2 separate regions of the Homo sapiens genome follow, and region 1 is linked to region 2. Evidence: promoter capture Hi-C in 16 types of primary human blood cells and fetal thymus (Javierre and others, 2016). All regions are on one chromosome and are shown on one strand. Each heading gives the region's core, a stretch centred on a gene start or on the middle of the fragment in contact. The rest is flanking DNA. Distances are from core to core; before and after follow the strand shown. Region 1 has its middle 2.7 kb from the start of SRSF6. Region 2 holds the start of DHX35 (DEAH-box helicase 35).

What was found. The method cuts DNA at HindIII sites, captures the fragments that hold promoters and counts their contacts. A CHiCAGO score of 5 or more calls a contact.
Region 1: a fragment that was not itself captured here is called in contact with the fragment with the promoter of DHX35 in region 2 in 1 of 17 cell types (monocytes); the score reaches 9.9 in monocytes.

What each region holds. Positions count from the first base shown.
Region 1 is chr20:43,452,495-43,457,889 of GRCh38, reverse strand. No RefSeq gene overlaps it. Among named protein-coding and RNA genes, the nearest start is that of SRSF6, 2.7 kb to the left of the region's middle. RefSeq lists enhancers at 1-196, 118-277, 338-657. The HindIII fragment of the contact is 271 bases long and covers 1,115-1,385 here.
Region 2 is chr20:38,959,400-38,964,942 of GRCh38, reverse strand. DHX35 (DEAH-box helicase 35) reads right to left here and starts at 2,599. Exons shown (of 22, transcript NM_021931.4): 1 at 2,536-2,599. The coding sequence starts at 2,575. RefSeq lists an enhancer at 2,265-2,574 and a silencer at 2,615-2,734. The HindIII fragment of the contact is 4,420 bases long and covers 1,582-5,543 here.

The DNA.
Region 1 (5,395 bases), core at 1-2,500, 4.5 Mb before region 2:
CGCGCGCGCCAGGCTTTCGCTATATGGGCGGCCGGTGGGGCGGGGCCTGGAGCGTGATGTCAGCGCGCAGCGGCACGTCCGTCCCGCGTCGTCCCTGGGCTAGATGGTGACTGGCGAGTCCGTTGCCCGCGACGTTTCGGTGTAGTGCGGTCTTGCTAGCTTCTAGGATTTTTCTCTAGCCCTCCCCACCGTCTTTGAAAACACAATGTCTCTAATCCAGCCGCAGAACTGCTTTCTAATTTGTACCTTTTATAAAACTGTGCGCGATCTCTTCGGGGTTGAAGCTCGGGAGGCGGGCTGAGCGAATCCCCGTTTTTCATTGGTTCTCGAGGTTATCATAATAGGTCGCCGCGGTCTCTGCTTGGTGGCTTAAAACGAGGCTGCGGATTTCTCCCAGCGATTGGTTGATGCTCGTTTTGATGGGGACCGCGGTCTCGGACCCAGTCGCTTGTCTTGTTTCGCAGAATCTGAGGATCGCGCGCCGAGGTCTTGCTGACCGGGCGGAGGTCGCGTTGCGAGCGCGCAGACCCGCCGACATCAGCCTCTCCGGGTCTCACTCGCAGCCTTCGCCTCCCCGGACGTTCCCCTCTCCCTCCATGGGTCTTTCTTGGAGCCCTGGCAGCTTGACTCACTTGTGGATTGGGCTATCCGTGGCAATCCTACGCTCACTGTAGGTGCTCAAAAGGGAGCGTGGACGAGACCCGGCAGCCCTCCCACAGCGACGAACGATTTTTTTTCTCCCGTGTATGGAAAGTCCTTTGTCCCAATACTATCATTTCCTCCACTGACTTGAAAGTGCCTTATTTTGTGAGTTTATCAATGGAGATGCTATTTAAAGCTGTAGAACCAGATTGAAAACCTCAAAGGAGTAAGTTTAAGTGGAGAGCGGAAGACCCAGGCCAACGCCTGGGGTACTCTGAAATTTAAGCGCAGGAAAGGAGACTGGGAGGAGTGACTAGCGAGGTAGGGAGAAGACCAGGAGAGTAGGTGTCACCGCCGAAGCTAAAAAAAAAAAAAAAAAAAAAAAGGGATATCACTGAGATAACACCAGCTCTTTAGATATTTATGTATTCCTGCTCTGTTTTGAGTGGTGCAACCTCAATATCCTTAAGCTTCGGGTTGAAAAAGGGGGGTTTTGTCCTCCTGGAGCTATTTGGAAGTCTAGAGGGAAACGTTGTTTGTCACGACTGGGGGAGGTAGAGGCCGTGCTTAAAGTTAGATAAATAAAAAATACGAGTCTGTAATCCCCACACCTTGGGAAGCTGAGGCAAGAGGATCTCTTGAGCCCAGGTGTTCGAGGCTGCAGTGAGCTATGATCATGCCACTGCACTCCAGCCTGGGTGACAAAGCAAGACTCCAACCTGCCTGAAGGAAAGAACAAAGCTTCCGCAGCGTGGAAGGGGACCCGAGCGGGTTGCCACTGCTGGCTGGACCGCCAGTTTTTAGTCCCTTATTTGGCCCTGCCTACATCCTGCTGATTGGTCCATTTTACAGAATGTTGATTGGTCCGTTTTTACAGAGTGCTGATTGGTGTGTTTACAAACCTTTAGCTAGACAGAGAGCACTGATTGGTGTGTTTTCAATCCTTTAGCTAGACGGGAAAGTTCTCCAAGTCCCCACCCAACCCAGAAGCCCAGCCGGCTTCACCTCTTCACCTCGGTAGGCAGAATAAGGGTTCCCCCTAAAGATGTCTATGTCCTAATCCTAATCCTAATCCCTGAAACCTGTGAAGATGTTACCTTGTATGTCAAAAGGGACTTTGCAGATCTGATTAAGTTGAGCATCTTGAGATGCAGAGATGCCCCGGGATTGTCCAGGTGGGCCCCATGTGATCATAAGGGTGATTACAAGAGGGGGACAGGAGAGCCACAGTCAGAGAAGCAGATGTGACAAAGGAGGCTGGGATTGGGGTCAGAGTGATTGGCTGTAAGAAAGTCACAACCGAAGTTAATGGCTTTGAAGATGGAGGAAGGAACCATAAGCCAAAGGGTGCCAGTAGCCTCTGGAAGCTGGAAGACACGAGGGAACAGATTCGCCCCAGAGCCTCCTGAAAGAACGCAGCCCAGGCCAGGCTCTGTGGCTCACACCTGTGCCATCTCGGCTCACTGCAACCTCCGCCTCCTGGGTTCAAGTGATTCTCCTGCCTCAGCCTCCCGAGTAGCTGGGATTACAGGCATGCACCACCACGCCCAGCTAATTTTGTATTTTTAGTAGAGACGGGGTTTCACCATGTTAGGCTGGTCTCGTTTCGAACTCCCAACCTGAGGTGATCCACCCGTCTCTGCCTCCCAAAGTGCTGGGATTATAGGCGTGAGCCATTGTGCCAAGCCCAACACCAGCTCTTTGGATATTTTTGTATTCCTGCTCTGTTTTGAGTGGTGCAACCTCAATATCCTTCCGCTTCGGGTTGAAAAGGGGGGGCGGGGTTTGCCCTCCTGGAGCTATTTGGCAGTCTGGAGGGAAACGTTGTTTGTCACGACTGGGGGAGATAGAGACCGTGCTTAAAGTCAGATAAAAAATATGATTCTGTAATCCCTGCACCTTGGGAAGCTGAGGCAGGAAGATCTCTTGAGCCCAGGAGTTCGAGGCTGCAGTAAGCTATGATCATGCCACTGCACTGCAGCCTGGATGACAAAGCAAGACACTGACTCAATGAAATAAAGAAAAGCAAGGAGCAAGGCGTAGTAGCTCACGCCTGTAATCCCAGCACTTTGGGAGGCCCAGGTGAGAGGATTGCTTGAGCCCAGGAGTTCGATATCAACCTGGGCAACATGGCAAGATCCCATCTCTACAAAAAACTTTTTTTTTAAAAAATTAGCTGGGCATGGTGGCACATGCCTATAGTCACAGCTATTGGGAAGGCTCTCAACAGGGGGCAGTGGTTCTCAACAGGGGGTAGTTCTGTCCCCCCTGCGGACATCTGTCAATATCTGAAGACTTTCTGGTTGTCACAGCTGGAGGAGGGAAGGAGCTGCTCGTATCTCATGGGTAGAGGCCAGGGATGCCACGAAACATCCTGCAAGGCACAGGACAGCCCCACCACGAAGGATTATCTGGTCCCCAATGTCAATAGCTGAGGTTGAGAAGTGCTATTCCAAATGAATCCTGTACAGAAGTTTTTTTCTTTTCTTTTTTAAATAGAGGCAGGGTCTCCCTATGTTACCCAGGCTGATCTTGATCTCCTGGGCTCAAGGAGTTCAAGCCTCATCCTCCCAAAGTGCTGGGATTACAGGCATGAGCCACCATGCCCAGCCTATGGAAGTTTTTAAAACGAAGTTTGGACTAGCTTGGCAACATGCAATCCAATCTCCCAGTTGGAAGAGCCTCAGAGGATCTTTCAGTCATCTGATTCATGATTCTTTCTAACTCTGTCACTGACAGTTTCCAATTCTGGATTCTGTTCCTGGAGCAACTACTGCTATATTCACTCCACTCCATACAAATACACCTGAGTTGCTACGAGAGGGGATTTGCCGGGCACCGTGGCTCACACCTGTAATCCCATCACCTTGAGAGGCAGAGATGGGATCACTTGATCCCAGGAGCACAAGACCAGCCTGAACAACATAGCAAGACTCCATCTCTTAAAAAAAAAAAAGGCCAGTACTGGCGGCGTATACTTGTAGTCCCAGCTACTCCAGGGACTGAGGTGGGAGGATCACTTGAGCCCTGGAGGTCAAGGCTGCAGTGAGGTATGATGGCTCCACTTCACTCCAGCCTGGGTGACAGAGCAAGACTCTTGTCTAAAAAAGAAAGGAGAGAAAGGAAAGAAAGAAATAAGAAAAGATATGAGCTCCCATGCTGCACATCTACCATTTCTCCTTTGAGTTGTTCTCCCAACACATCAGCAGAGTTGGGTCCTCAGGAAGACTCCACAGAATGGTGACAATCCAGCACCTCTCTCAATTATGATATTTGAAACTGTTTTCTCTTCCGCAGCAGTGCTCTTGGGTTTTTTGTTAGGGGTAGCCACTGGGCTTTGGGAAAGAGAAGTGAGAGGAAGAGTGGATGATATCAGCTGCATCTTTCTCTTTGACAAACGAATTCCCTATCCTTCAATAAATACTATCCCACTAACTCCCCAAAGCAATGTCCAGTCCCACCAATACCGTAAGAGTGTCATTTCCTGCTTCAACTCTTGCAAATAATTTTAATAAATTTTTTAAAAATGAGAGTTTGATGAGTAACAAATGTTATCATTGTCAAATTCTCCTTTCCCTAACTACATTCCATGGACTTAAGCCTCTCTCTATACATATTTATGTATACATGCACATATAAATCTTGCTGCTGCCCACTCTTTGGGTCCGCACTACCTTTAAGAGCTGTAACACTCACTGCAGAAGGTCTGCAGCTTAAGACCACGAACCCACTGGAAGGAAGGAACTCGGGACACATCTGAACATCTGAAGGAGAAACTCCGGACACACCATCTTTAAGAACTGTAACACTCACTGCGAGGGTCCGCGGCTTCATTCTTGAAGTCAGCAAGACCAAGAACCCACCGGAAGGAACCAATTCCACACACACTACCACAGGGACTCTGAAATTTTGTTAAATTTAGGAATGGAAGCTGGGTGCAGGGACTTGTGCTTGTAATCCTAGCGCTTTGGGAGGATGAGGTGGGAGGATCTCTGGAGGCCAGGAGTTCAAGACCAGCCTGGGCAATATAGCAAGTCTACAAAAAATGAAAAAAGGCCAGGCACAGTGGCTAACGCCTGTAATCCCAACACTTTGGGAGGACGAGGTGGGCAGATCACTTGAGGTCAGGAGTTCGAGACCAGCCTGGCCAAAATGGTGAAACCCTGTCTCCACTAAAAACACAAAAATTAGCCGTGTGTGGTGGTGCAGGCCTGTAATCCCAGCTGCTCGGGAGACTGAGAATCGCTTAAACCCGGGAGGTGGAGGTCGCAGTGAGCAGAGATTGCACTACTGCACTCCAGCCTGGGCGACAGAACGAGACTACGTGTCAAAAAAAGAAAGAAAAATGTTAGTAGGCATGGCGGCACGCACCTGTAGTCCTAGCTACTTGGGAGGCAAAGGCAGGAGGATCACTTGAGCCCAGGTGTTTCAGGCTGCAGTGAGTCGTGATTGTGTGACTTCTCTCCAGCCTGGGCCACAGAGTGAAGACCTGTCCCCCTCCCTTCCAAAAATTTAGGAATGGCAACTGGGAAGTGTCTAAAAAGGTAAGGAAAAAACCCGAAAAGAGTGTGGTGTCACAGAAGCTAGGAGTGGAAAGGGTTTCAGGGAGGTAGTGGTTAATTGACAAACAGCAAGTTCATAAACCTTTGACCCAGTAACCTTAATCCTAGAAATCTATTTGACAAGGGGCCAGTTTGTAAAATCATAGGTCCAGGGATGCTTATTCAAGCCATGGAATACTCTTCCACAATGA
Region 2 (5,543 bases), core at 1,350-3,849:
TACTGACTTCATCTTCTCCCACATCTTCCTCTAAAATGTCTCTCCAACAGGCACCTCCTCTAAGCTCCCAGGTCAGAATTAAGGTTTTTAACATCCCTCCTGGATTTCACTAGTACCTTCTCTAATTTCCTCCTCCATCCACTCTCTACTCCACTGCCAGTGTTATCTTTCTAAAGTAAACCTGATTTGTTCCTGCTTAAAAACACTGAAGTCAGGCCAGGCCCAGTGGCTCACGCCTGTAATCCCAACACTTTGGGAGGCCGAGGTGGGCAGATCACGGGATCAAAAGATTGAGATCATCCTGGCCACCATGCTGAAACTCCATCTCTACTAAAAATACAAAAATTAGCTAGGTGTGGTGGCACACACCTGTAGTCCCAGCTACTCAGGAGGCTGAGGCAGGAGAATCGCTTGAACCTGGGAGGTGGAAGTTCCAGTGAGCCGAGATTGCGCCACTGCACTCCAGCCTGGGCGGCTGAGCCAGACTCCATCTCAAAAAAAAAAAAGAAAGAAAACAAAAAAACAGTGAAGTCTAAACTTTTTAACTTGTCATGAAGACCTTTCACAATGAGGCCCTTACCTACTTTTCTAGCTTCATCTCCTGTCATACCCCAAAATATACCCTAGCACTTAACACTATCACACTGCTCTGTTATTTTGGCTTTCTGGACATTCTAAAGGCACAAATCCCATTCTGCCTTTGTTCATGCTGCACCCTTTGCTTCGAGTTCCATTTCTCTATGAAACAAAACCTTATTCATCCTTTAATGTTCACTCCAAAAATACCACCTTAATGAAGTATTTCTTATCCATACATTCAACTTTCCCTCCCTCTTCCATACTTCCATATAATTATAATAGTAACCTATCTAGTGCCAAGATCCTGTTGTGTGTTATTCTCATTTAAACCTCACAACACTACTTTGGGTAGGGTAGGTATTATACCCAATTTACAGATGGAGTAACTGAGACTTTGAGAATTTAAGTGACTATCAAGTCATCAACTTAGTAAGTGGTAGACATGATGGGCACTGCAGTCTGACTCTAGAGCTCATCTTCTTTACCACCACCTTACTCTGTCTCATTGTAAAATCTCTTCTAGAGGACATCTAACTTTATATTCAATTAAGAGAGAGACAGTAACTTGAGAGCAGAGCCCTGAGCATCTGTATTTGTCTCCTGAACACAGGATTAGGTTTTCAATAAGTGTACCCTCAATGGATGAACTAAATAATGAAATAGAACTCTTAAGAGTAATTCCACGTTCTTTAACCAAAATAGTACCCTGGTCTGATTTCAAACAATTAATTCAGCTCTTTATTATACCTAACACTTTCACCTGTTACTAAAAGCGTGAATAAATTAAAAGTATTCATTACTTAGTAAGTTCCTAGTTTTGGATGCAAATAAAACTCAGGATGGATAATTGGCTGATGACTTGAAATGCTGAACCATAAAACTGTCAAGTGACAGACTACAAATTTTTAAAAAGCATTAAACATATCTCTTGCTTGGGTTTATCTCTCACATCACTTATATGCATGGTCAGAATTTCAGAGAACCACTGAAAAATTAAAAGCTTTGCTTATATTACATTCTTGGTGTCATTTCATTTTTGCTGCAATATACTTTGCACATCCAGACCTGCAGGGGTGCAGGTGGTAGAAAAAAATCAAGCTGGTAGCTGTAATTTAAAAACTTTTGTTTTTTACAAGAAACTGTTTGCAGAGAGGAAGTAATGCATCTAGTACGGTCTGGCATATGCACATTCAGTAAAAACCTGATTAATGAGTAAATATCAAGACAAAACAAGTAAAGCATTTTGTGATTGTGATTCGTGTTAGTCTGTAAGAGAGGAAGTGGCTGGCAGCCAATATGAAGGACTGTTCCCTTTTCTAGTAGACATTCGGAGTGGACAACAATTATCCTAAAAGAAAATAACACACTTTCCCTTTTTTTGAGCATTTATTCTAAGTCTGACAACGCGTTCTGCTTGTCATTTAAGCCCACAGCATAGAAGCTATTGTTCTGCCCACTTTACAGGTAAAGAAGTCATGGCTCAGAGGCATTAAGTGACTCGCCCAAGGTCACCCTACTACAAGGCAGAGACGAAAATTCGAACCCGGACAGTCTGACTCCATAACTTGGGCTTGCAAGCCTCCAGCAGCGAGCAGCATTGTCTGTCGGGCCACAGCGCAACCCCAGGGCGCTAACGAGACACGAGAGGGAGCTTTAGGATTCCCCATCTCGCGGGGTGGGCAGGACAAGCATCAGTAACGAGGAAGACGAGGCCTGAGGAGGCTGGACCACTTTAACAAGGTCACAAAGAGTTTCTGCTCACGCTAGGGGAGCACCCCCAAATCCCTCGGGACCACTGGGGAGCCTGAGCCAGAGCTCCCCCCGCACAGAGGCGGCAGCGCCCAGCTCGCCGAGGTCAGGCCTGCGAGCAGGTCTGCTGGCCCCAGGGCGCCGGCCGCGGCGCCAAGACCGAAGTCAGGCCGCCGCATCTGCCCAGCGTTCCACCAAGGGCCTTACCGGGTCGCCAGAACTTCACCGGTCCCACGGGCGCAGCCATGTTGGGGTAAAAGGTCACGAGGCTAGCTCCACCCCACCGTCGCGCGCTAGGCCCCCAGGGCCCGGAGGGCGTGGCCCCCGAAGAGCCGCTGCCCAGACGGATCGCGCCGTGTGACGGCCACGCCCCCACAGCTACCGCCCCCGTCTGAGCCACGTGACCCACTTCCAGGCTCCGGCGAGCGCACCGGCCCCGCCCCCGAGCCCACGTGACCCTGCTCAGCCATTTTGGAGAAAAGGGCGCGCTCCTCCGCCTACCTCTTGAGCGTGGAGGGTAGATGCTTCAGGTGACCTTTTACGAGCGTGGCGTGTCCTGGATGGCGGCCGCACACTTAGGAAGAACGGGCTTTGGGAGAGGACCGCTGGCCCGAGAGTGGAACCTTGCACGCACTGGGCGTTGAAGCAGTGCTTTCTGGATTAAATACGAAATACTGATGTCACAAGCTACCTCAACTTGTCGACTTCTGTTTTATTCTCAATTTCAAATTGAAGGGTAATAATAGGAACTACCTCGTGGGTTGTATTTGTCAGTAAATATTGCGCGCCTGCTGTGGGCCCAGGTAGTGCGGCACAGTGCCCCAAATAAAACAATGCGAAATGATATGGAAGTCTTCAGGGACCTTGAGGGCAAAACGGAAAAACGGACTGGGGGTGGGGTGGAGCGAATGGGTTGGCAGAAGAGACTGAAAATGGGTAGATCAATTAAGGTAGTCCACCAACTCAGTGCTTCCTCCAATTTGATACCCTTGAGTCAAATGCTTGTTAAAAACACAGATTCTAGGCCTTGATCCAATTCTGAATCGATGTCCTGGAGCATGGCTTGGGAACCTGCATTTTGAGAAGCTCCTGAATTCTTCAGATTAACAAATTTGGGAAAGATTACACTAATCCATCAGACGAAAGGTGAGGTCAAAGAAAAAGAAATTACAGTAATCCAAAGGAGCGCTAAGAAGGGGTGATGAGCTCAAGTGGAGGAAATAACTTTCTAGGTAGGCAACTAATTGGAAGGAAGTGAGAGGCTTCAGAATCTATGCATTTTTAAAGCTGTGAAGAAAATTCTGAATTCTTTGAAAGAAGTGGCATCATTATGGCAAGAGCAGGGGCTTTTGTGGACAACCAGTCCAGACTTGGAATCGTAACTTTGCCATTTCCTAGCTCCTAGCTGTCATTTAATTTTAGTTGTAAAATGAGGTTTAAAGAGGTATTACATGAGATAACATGTAAAGTACCTAACAGTGCAAAACATAGCAGGCACTGAATCAATGTTAGCTCTCATTACCTCAACTCAGAGCAAATCCACCAGGGGGAAAAAAATCTGAATTTACCTGCATAGGTTCATGTAAGAATCTTCTTTGATTTATTTTTATAGTAATTAATGTAGGGACTCAATATCTGTTAGTCCCTCGGCCTAGAATTCTCCATCCATCCTTTAAATTATCTTTATCCCTTAAAGGGCTAGCTCTAAATTATCTATCCAACTTAAACATTCCCCCTTGTAGTCTAGGAACTGTATTCTCACTTTTGTGAGAAAAGTGACCTGTAGTTTAGTTGCCTGTAGTTTACCTGCCGCCACTATTACACAGGGAACTTACTGAGGACGAGGACCATGTCACATTCACATTCGTGGCCCAGTAACAAGTGCCTATTGAGTGTAGATAAACATCATGCTTTAGGCTTAGTTTTAGTTGATCTGTAGTTTACCTGCCGCCACTATTACACAGGGAACTTACTGAGGACGAGGACCATGTCACATTCACATTCGTAGCCCAGTAACAAGTGCCTATTGAGTGTAGATAAACATCATGCTTTAGGCTTAGTTTTAGTTGATCTGTAGTTTACCTGCCGCCACTATTACACAGGGAACTTACTGAAGACAAGGACCATGTCAGCATTCACATTCACATTCACATTCGTAGCCCAATAACAGTGCCTATTGAGTAATGTATAGATAAACATCATGCTTTAGGCTTAGTTTTAGTTGATCTGTGGTTTACCTGCCGCCACTATTACACAGGGAACTTACTGAGGACGAGGACCATGGCACATTCACATTCGTAGCCCAGTAGCAGTGCCTATTGAGTAATATACAGATAAACATCATGCTTTAGGCTTAGTTTTAGTTCTTCATGACATTGATTTTTCCTTGTTTTATTTTTGTCTTATTTTACTAACAGCCCAAATACGGAAACCAAGGTTTATACATGAATATAAGGCAAAATGAAATAAATGCCACTTTTAAGATTATTTCATGGCCTGGCACGGTGGCTCACACCTGTAATCCCAGCACTTTGGGAGACTGAGGCAGGCAGATCAACTGAGGTAAGAGTTCGAGACCAGCCTGGCCAACATGGCGAAATTCTGTCTCTACTAAAAATACAAAAAAATTAGCCGGGTGTGGTAGTAGTCACCTGTAATCCCAGCCAGTTGGGAAGGTGAGGCAGGAGAATCCCTTGAACCCGGAAGGCAGAGGTTGCAATGAGCAGAGATCCGCCACTGCACTCCAGCCTGGGCGACAGAGTGAGACTCTATCTCAAAAAATAGAAAAAAAAATAAATAAAATAACTTATCTATTTTATCTATTACTCATATAATGAAACCTTCCTGTTTATGAAGAGACAGTAAATCGGCCATGCCTGTATTATTGGATCATAATCTTTTTTCTTTTTTAGATGGAGTCTTGCTCTGTCGCCCAGGCTGGCAAGCAATGGCGAGATCTCATCTCACTGCAACCTCCACCCACCGGGCTCAAGCGATTCTCCTGCCTCAGCCTCCCTAGTAGCTGGGACTACAGGCACACGCCACCATGCCCGGCTAATTTTTGTATTTTTAGTAGAGACAGTTTCCCCATGTTGGTCAGGCTGGTCTCATGGATCATAATCTTAAAGCTGGAGGAGACCATACTTAACACCTAGCCTGAATTTCTTGTCTTATAGGAAACTGAGGTACATAGAAGTTAAAAGGACTTGGTCAGA